Linked DNA regions of Homo sapiens: region 1 is linked to region 2. Evidence: promoter capture Hi-C in 16 types of primary human blood cells and fetal thymus (Javierre and others, 2016). All regions are on one chromosome and are shown on one strand. Each heading gives the region's core, a stretch centred on a gene start or on the middle of the fragment in contact. The rest is flanking DNA. Distances are from core to core; before and after follow the strand shown.

Region 1 (4,172 bases), core at 1,521-4,020, 1.1 Mb before region 2:
GGGGAGAGAACGGAAAGAAAGAGACCAAGTAGGATGTAAGAAGGGGCAGTGCAGTAGGAATGTAGAAGTGGAGTCAGCTGTAGAACTTCTTACAGAGGCAGAGTCCATAGGCAAGTGATGAAATCTTGTAGGTTAAGTAAGAGAGATGAAGCTTTAGAATGCTGGTTTTGAGGTGCTGTAAGTCATCTAGGTTGAGCTATCATGGTGACAGTTGGAAATGGGGAAGGACCTTTAGAGATGAGAGCTGGGGATATCTGAAGCCATGATTTTAGATGAAATTGGCAGGGAAAGTGTTGAAAGAAGAGGGCCAGGGGCAGACACTGGGGAAAGCCTGCATTGAGAAAATGGTAGAAGGAGCCAGCCTGCTTAAGTAAAAAAGTGGTTAAAGAGGTTCTACCTCTTTGAGATACCACAGTGCCACAGGAGATACAGTATATATATAGTCAAATATATACTTGTACTTAAAACTTTCATTTTTGGCCACTGCATAATTATTGTTATAAGCACGCAATGTTTATGCTGTAATCAGATCTACTGAGGAATTAATGAAATTCATTTCCTTTGCTTCACAGGTCAAGAACTGTGGAATCTTTCAGATGATATTCTGATACTTCTGGACCAAGTATGTATGGTTGTCCTTGATCTTACTCTTAAGTTGCAATCTTAAGGTTAATTGAATATGTAACTTCATGTTACTGTTTTTGATATGTAAAGGAGTGATTTTTTAAAAGTGACAAGCCTATGAGCATTTATAGAACAACTAATATGTTCTTTTTCATATGTTAAAAGAACAAACACGGTAATTCTAGCAAAAAATGATTATGATGGCATGTCAATCCAGAGTGTAGGTGCAAAAAAAGAAAAACACCTTTCTTTGGGGCCACAAAGCAGCCCTTTTTTGAGGGCATTGATTGGAACCCATATATAAATAGAAACTAGCTTTTTCACATATATCTAAACTGCTAATTTACAGTGATAGCCTCTTTTTTCTTTGCATAAAAATCTTTTACATATTTGGGAGTTTTGTTTTCAATTATTATTTAGAGTATTATACTAAAGAACAGAAATCAGTTTAATGCAAAGAATACTTGATAGATGAAAAAGATGTTTATGGCTTTTTTCTTTTTTTGAGACAGGGTCTCACTCCTTTTGCCCAGGCTGGAGTGAAGTGGTACAATCGCAGCTCACTGTACCCTCAACTTTCTGGGCTCAGGTGATTCTCCGACCTCAGCCTCCTGAGTAGCTGAGATTACAGGCTTGCATCATGGTGCCTGGCTAATTTTTGTGTATTCTGTAGAGACGGGGTTTCATCATGTTGCCCAGGATGGTCTCAAACTCCTGAGCTCCAGCAATCTGTCCACCTTGGCCTCCCAAAGTGCTGGGATTACAGGCATGAGCCACCATGCCTGGCTGTTTATTGCTTCAGTTGTTACCTTCCACCTAAACCTCAAGAAAATAATTTAACCTCTTTTCACTCTAATTCTTTTCAAAGAGATAGCTGATAATCCTAGCCAAAGAATGTCCATGGCTTTATCAGTACATACTGAACACACGTTCATTTTTTAAAATCATTATTATTTTTCAGGTCATTATGAAATTGTTTCTAAATGCCTTTTGATTTCCGGTTGATCACTTTATTACTACCGTACTGCATCAAACTTTTAAAGTAGACATCTCTTGTGATTTGTATGAATTGATAGGAGACATTAGTAACTTCCAGGGATAAAAGAAATTATCATCAATAAAATGATGCTTTGAACAGAACTTGAAAAATGATGAAATTCTAGTCATATGAAAAAAGTTTAAAATAAATATAGTGTTTTTAAAGAGCAATGTATGTATTACTAGAATAAATTAACCAAAATTAATGCTTCCTTTAAATGAACAAACCTTTTCCTGCCAATGTAAAATGCCAATTATTGCCAAGATGAAAACACAGACACCGATGAGAGCTATAGCAGTAAGCAGAACAATATTACTTGGTGTAAGATACAGTTTGGCACTCCAACTGTAGATAAAAACAGAACAAATTAAAATTACAAATTTTATTTAAAAATAACAAAGTTATATTGAGACCCCAAAGCAAAATAGCTTATTAATTAAACAGTCAATGTATTCATTAAACCATTCATTCATCAGTCCATTCATTATAAATAAAACAAAAACAATTAAAAATCAGATAGTGCTGAGAATATTGATGATTCTGCAGTTTATATTTTACCTAGACAACTGAAATAGAATTTTTGATGAGATATTTCAATATTTTTCATTTTCCAAGTTTGATCCTATGAGAATTATTTTTAGGTAAACATATCCAAGGGTACTTTGGATAATCATAGACATCTTTTTTACATCTTGATTTACCTGCTTAATTTGAAAACCTGAACTCTAAAGCAAGGTAGTCACATGATCCTAGAAGCCTTCTGTATCATCTTATTTTTGACCTGTGTCACATATATAATGTGACCAAGTAAAACATAAATGTTGATGGCTTGTGCAAAACTTCTATAATTTTTATATCATGTTGGAGTGTTTACATTACTACAATGACTTTTAGGTTCAGATCACTTACAAAATCATCTTTAGTCCCTCACTGTTAATGGCAATATACAGACTAGAGGTCTTTAGTAAACAGAACTAGTTCTTTCCTTCTAAAACAGTCCATGTAATATAGCATTTGCACACCCTGAAAGCCTAAAACTAAGGACTGTATCACCAAGTGTGAAGGTTGTTATATACACATAACTTTTTGTTCTTCCTAGAAATAGGTAATGGCTATATTTTTATTTTAAAAGTTTAATAAAGGTAAGACTGTTCTGGTAAATAGCAAGTAGCTATTGATTTATTCTGGGATAATTAAAATTTATTGATCCATAAGTTAGCTTCTAGTCAATAACCTCAAAATACACCTCAAAAACTAAAATCAATTTGGTTTTTATTATGTACATAAATTTGAAAAGAACATTTCTTTGGAAAGAGTAAGAGAAACATGAAAAATGTTGAGATTACGGAAAAAAGCTATGGTATAATTTTCTGGAAATTCAGAAGAGTAAGTAAACCTTAAGAAAACAAATACTGTTAATTAGTTGAAAGCTACTCTTAGTGTTATACTCATACTTAAGAAAACAGTTCTTTTATGAGATGTTTTTGGTAGTTCTACTTTTAAAATAGATTTTTAACAAATCAGGAATGTAAGTGTTTTGGTAAAAAAAAAAAAAAAAAAAGACAAAAGTCAATCCTCAGTTTTCTCCTCAGAGGCAGTCACTCTTACCAGTTTCCTGCATATCCTTTCAGAGATATTTTATACATGTATGAACATGTATGTATAGATGGCTTCTTTTTAAATCACAATGGCTGCTTATTATACATACTCTTCTACATTTTGCTGTTGCTTCTTTTGTTTGTTGTTGTTGTTATTGTTTTTTGCTTACCACTCCATCTTAAGAGACTGTTCTATGTCCGTGGCAGTGAAAAAAAATCATGCTACTGAGCTGTATAGAAGTACCGTACTTTATATAGTTTCCTACTCATGGTCCAGATTTTCTAGTTTTACTGTAAATTTCATCTATAGAAAACTAACACAAACATACAATACAGGCTCATTAAAAAAAATCTGAACCAGGACTATAACTGTTTCAATGATGTCATCTTATTCCAAGCATAAGGCTGTGATAAAGTTTATTTTCTTAAGCAGTTTGGTTCTGAAGCCCATTAATTTACCATAAAATGCATCTGCTGGTATGCTGGTAAACTGGCTCTGAGGTAGAGAGGGGTTCGGGAAGCCTTGTTTATGGTACTTGCCAATTTTCATGGAGTAGATTCTCCTACCATAACTGATTTCAGTGTGACTTCACTGAATAGAGATGCACAGAGTCAGGTCATGAAGTGGCATAAGCTGGTTTTGGCAATCAATACATTCGATCGAGATGTTTAATAAAGAATGATGAAGCTGGTATTTTCAGAGGGAATGTAACAAGCAGGGGACCCCACTGGTTACATATTCATAGATAAATTCACCATTTCTCTTTGGTTATTTTCTCATATTGATATTTGTCTAGCATATTTTTCCCTATGAAATTTAAATGTTAGTGAATACTTTTATCGCCTAATTTAAAAGGAATAGAATCAATCTAGGAATTTAAATAAAAATGAATAAAATTTAAGGATTTAAA
Region 2 (4,733 bases), core at 1,830-4,329:
CCACTGCGTCCAGCCCACAACATCTCTTTCATGGTATTTGGCCCCAAAATGCATATCATTGATCTAATCGTGAGAAACAGTAGATAAACTCCAATTGAATGAACTTCTACAAAATAACTGACTGATATCCTTCAAAAGTATCAAGGTTTTCCCACTGCTCAACGAAATAAAAGAGGACACAAACAAATGGAAGAACATTCCATGCTCATGGATAGGAAGAATCAATATCGTGAAAATGGCTGTACTGCCCAAGGTAATTTATAGATTCAATGCCATCCCCATCAAGCTACCAATGACTTTCTTCACAGAATTGGAAAAAACTACTTTAAAGCTCATATAGAACCAAAAAAGAGCCGGCATTGCCAAGACAATCGTAAGCCAAAAGAACAAAGCTGGAGGCAACATGCTACCTGACTTCAAACTATACTACAAGGCTATGGTAACCAAAACAGCATGGTACTGGTACCAAAACAGAGATATAGACCAATGGAACAGAACAGAGCCCTCAGAAATAATACCACACATCTACAACCATCTGATCTCTGACAAACCTGACAAAAACAAGAAATGGGGAAAGGATTCCCTATTTAATAAATGGTGCTGGGAAAACTGGCTAGCCATATGTAGAAAGCTGAAACTGGATCCCTTCCTTATACCTTATACAAAAATTAATTCAAGATGGATTAAAGACTTAAATGTTAGACCTAAAACCATAAAATTCCTAGAAGAAAACCTAGGCAATATCATTCAGGACATAAGCATGGGCAAGGACTTCATGACTAAAACACCAAAAGCAATGGCAACAAAAGCCAAAATTGACAAATGGGATCTAATTAAACTAAAGAGCTTCTGCACAGCAAAATAAACCACCATCAGAGTGAACAGGCAACCTACAGAATGGAAGAAAATTTTTACAATCTACCCATCTGACAAAGGGCTAATATCCAGAATCTACAAAGAACTTAAACAAGTTTACAAGAAAAAATCAAACAACCCCATCTAAAAGTGGGCAAAGGATATGAACAGACACTTCTCAAAAGAAGACATTTATGCAGCCAACAGACACATGAAAAAATGCTCATCATCAGTGGCCATCAGAGAAATGCAAATCAAAACCACAATGAGATACCATCTCACACCAGTTAGAATGGCAATCATTAAAAAGTCAGGAAACAACAGGTGCTGGAGAGGATGTGGAGAAATAGGAACACTTTTACACTGTTGGTGGGACTGTAAACTAGTTCAACCATTGTGGAAGACAGTGTGGCAATTCCTCAAGGATCTGGAACTAGAAATACCATTTGACCCAGCCATCCCATTGCTGGGTATATACCCAAAGGATTATAAATCATGCTGCTATAAAGACACACACACACGTATGCTTACTGCGGCACTATTCGCAATAGCAAAGACTTGGAACCAACCCAAATGTCCATCAATGATAGACTGGATTAAGAAAATGTGGCACATATACACCATGGAATACTATGCAGCCATAAAAAAGGATGAGTTCATGTCCTTTGTAGGGACATGGATGATGCTGGAAACCATCATTCTGAGCAAACTATCGCAAAGACCGAAAACAAAACACTGCAAGTTCTCACTCATAGGTGGCAACTGAACAATGAGAACACTTGGACACAGGGTGGGGAACATCACACTCAGGGGCCTGTCGTTGGGTGGTGGGGAGTGGGGGGGAAGGGATACCATTAGGAGATATACCTAATGTAAATGACGAGTTAGTGAGTGCAGCAAACCAACATGGCACATGTATACATATGTAACAAACCTGTACGTTGTGCACATGTACCCTAGAACTTAAACTATAATAAAAAATAAAATTAAATTAAAAACAGAAAAAAAATAAAAGTATCAAGGTTGTAAAAAAAAAAAAAATTGGACGGGCGCAGTGGCTCAGGCCTGTAATCCCAGCACTTTTGGGAGGCCAAGGCGGGCAGATCACGAGGTCAGGAGATTGAGACCATCCTGGCTAACATGGCGAAACCCCGTCTCTACTAAAAATACAAAAAATTAGCCGGGCGTGGTTGCGGGTGCCTGTAGTCCCCAGCTACTCGGGAGGCTGAAGCAGGAGAATGGCATGAACCCGGGAGGCGGAGCTTGCAGTGAGCCGAGATCTCGCCACTACACTCCAGCCTGGGTGACAGAGCGAGACTCCGTCTCAAAAAAAAAAAAAAAAAAAAAAAATTGAGGACTTGCCACAGATTAGAGAACACCTAGGAGATTTCATAACAAAACACCTAGGAGATTTCACAACAGGATCCTGGATATTGGATCCTGGACCAGATCCAATGAAGGACATTAGTGGGAAAACTGGCAAAATTTGGGTAAGGCCTATAGGTTAAACGATAATAATGTTAATTTCCTGGTTTTGATCATTGAACTATGATTATGTAAGATGATAACAGACGAAACTGGGTGAAAGGTATATAGGAACTCTGCTGTAGTTTTGTACATCTAAAATCAATTCGGGCCGGGCACGTTGGCTCACGCCTGTAATCCCAGCACTTTGGGAGGCCGAGGTGGACGGATCGCTTGAGGTCAGGAGTTAAAGACCAGCCTGGCCAACATGGTGAAATCCCCTCCCTACTAAAAATACAACAATTAGCTGGGTGTGGTGGCGGGCATCTGTAATCCCAGCTACTCGGGAGGCTGAGGCAGGAGAATCGCTTGAACCCGGGAGGCAGAGGCTGCAAGCCGTGGGTATCGCGCCATTGCACTCCAGCCTCCGCGACAGAGCGAGAATCTGTCTCAGAATAAATAAATAAATAAATAAATAAATAATTAGTTCGAATCAAAAGTTAAAAACACTTCAAGTATATGTAAAAAATCGAAGAAAACGTTAAAAACACTTCAAGTATATACAATTCAAATAAGATCATCCTTCCAAATATACTCTGTAAGTGAGGCGAAGGTCGCTGCACGCTTGAGTGCACGTCTTTCCGCATAGGTAGGACGCTCAAGTCTTACCGGGAGGCTCTCCTAGAGAGCAGCGCGAAGCCATGGCTTTTGGGCCCGGGGACGGACCGTAGCGCGTAGCCGGAAGCGGAGGCGTGGAGGCGGGTCTGAGGTTTGGTGACTGCGGGGCAGGCCGGGGGCAGCTGTCTGTCTGGCTCTTTTTGACAGCCCCCAGTGCGAAAGGCTGCCAGCATGTCATCAGTGAGCCCCATCCAGATCCCCAGTCGCCTCCCGCTGCTGCTCACCCACGAGGGCGTCCTGCTGCCCGGCTCCACCATGCGCACCAGCGTGGACTCGGCCCGCAACCTGCAGCTGGTGCGGAGCCGCCTTCTGAAGGGCACGTCGCTGCAAAGCACCATCCTGGGCGTCATCCCCAACACGCCTGACCCCGCCAGCGACGCGCAGGACCTGCCGCCGCTGCACAGGTAGGCCTGGCTGCCCCCGCGGCGGCGGCGGGCGGCGCGGCCTCCTCCGGGGACCTGGGCCCAGGCCACGGCCTGCCTTGAGCGCGAGGCTCAGTTCGGGGCGGCCTTCGCGGCTCGGTTCCGCCTCTCTGGTGCTATCACTTGCAAAATGGGGATGTCAGATACCTGCCCCATGACCATGAATGAGATCGTTCATGAAGTAGTGCCTGACACCTGGTGAAACTACGCAGTTCCCTACCGTTCTGGATAATTTAATTTGAATCCTCTTCCCCCTCTCCGCAATTCCTCGCCCTCGGTCTTCAGCCTCCTAGGCCAGTGCTTTTAACTTTCCAGGCCCTTTCTTTCTCCCCGGTGATCTCTGCCTTCACTTGCCTTCGCTTTTCACCTTTCTCCCCACTGCCCTTTACTCCTATCCGCCTCCCCTTTTCTGTCACCCATCATTTTTGTCCGCTGAGGCATTCTCTGCTCCGTGAGTTTTAACTTTTCCTGTTTCATTCCTAAACTGCACTATTTGTGGGTGCCTTTCTTCTATACTCCCTGCCACCCTTCTCCTTCTCCCCCTAATCCTTCTGTTTCCCTTTGTAAAGGGCCTTTACTGCTCACATTTTCGCTGGTCCCCCTTTCTGGAACTTTCCTAGCTTCTCACCTCTGCTCCTTCACTCATAACATTTCTTAGGCCCCAGGCTTACTACTATATTGCCCAGTACCCTCGCCCTATTGGTGTGACTTTGGGTGAGAGCTTTAACCTCTATTTCTTTTATTCTGCAATTTGGAAACTGACAGCATCCATCTCTTAGGCAAGTTATGAAGAATAAATTGAATAATGTGTATATTCCACTTTGCACCATGCATGATGGATGACTTTGCTGTCCAGTACTGTGTAGTGCATGTGGCTCGTCAAATTGAGATGATAGAATTGCCAGTTGTCCTGGTTTGCTGCGATTGTCTGTTTTAGCATTGAAAGTCCTATGTTTTAGCCCCTCCGTCCCAGGGAAACCAGGAGGTTGGTCACCCTAAATGTGCTGTAAGTGTACAATACACGCCAGATTTTGAAAAAACTTTTTGATTAATACATTTTATATGGATTAAATGTTGGAAAGGTAATATTTTGAGTACTTGGGGTTAATAAAATGTTAAGATTTCTGCTGTTTTTACTTTATAATGTGGCCACTAAAATTTTATATGTGGTCCACATTATATTTTTATTGGACAATGCTGGTATATCGTATGCTCTCAACAAGTATCTTCAAACTCACCTGCCAAGCACCCGCCTCCTATTCCTAACTCTACTGGAGGTGTTGTGTTTTCAGTTTAGAGCTTCTCCTTTCCTGG

The links. The method cuts DNA at HindIII sites, captures the fragments that hold promoters and counts their contacts. A CHiCAGO score of 5 or more calls a contact.
Region 1: a contact is called between a fragment that was not itself captured here and the fragment with the promoter of LONP2 in region 2, in 1 of 17 cell types (total B cells). The highest score is 5.1, in total B cells.

What each region holds. Positions count from the first base shown.
Region 1 is chr16:47,156,983-47,161,154 of GRCh38, forward strand. It overlaps ITFG1 (integrin alpha FG-GAP repeat containing 1), which reads right to left. Exons shown (of 18, transcript NM_030790.5): 17 at 1,891-2,008. ITFG1-AS1 (ITFG1 antisense RNA 1) reads left to right here. Exons shown (of 4, transcript NR_110904.1): 2 at 573-622. Among named protein-coding and RNA genes, the nearest start is that of ITFG1-AS1, 15 kb to the left of the region's middle. The HindIII fragment of the contact is 5,243 bases long and covers 150-4,172 here.
Region 2 is chr16:48,241,221-48,245,953 of GRCh38, forward strand. It overlaps LONP2 (lon peptidase 2, peroxisomal), which reads left to right and starts at 3,080. Exons shown (of 15, transcript NM_031490.5): 1 at 3,080-3,401. The coding sequence starts at 3,169. The region is part of intron 1 of ABCC11 (ATP binding cassette subfamily C member 11); the gene reads right to left. RefSeq lists an enhancer at 3,016-3,105. The HindIII fragment of the contact is 24,694 bases long and covers 1-4,733 here.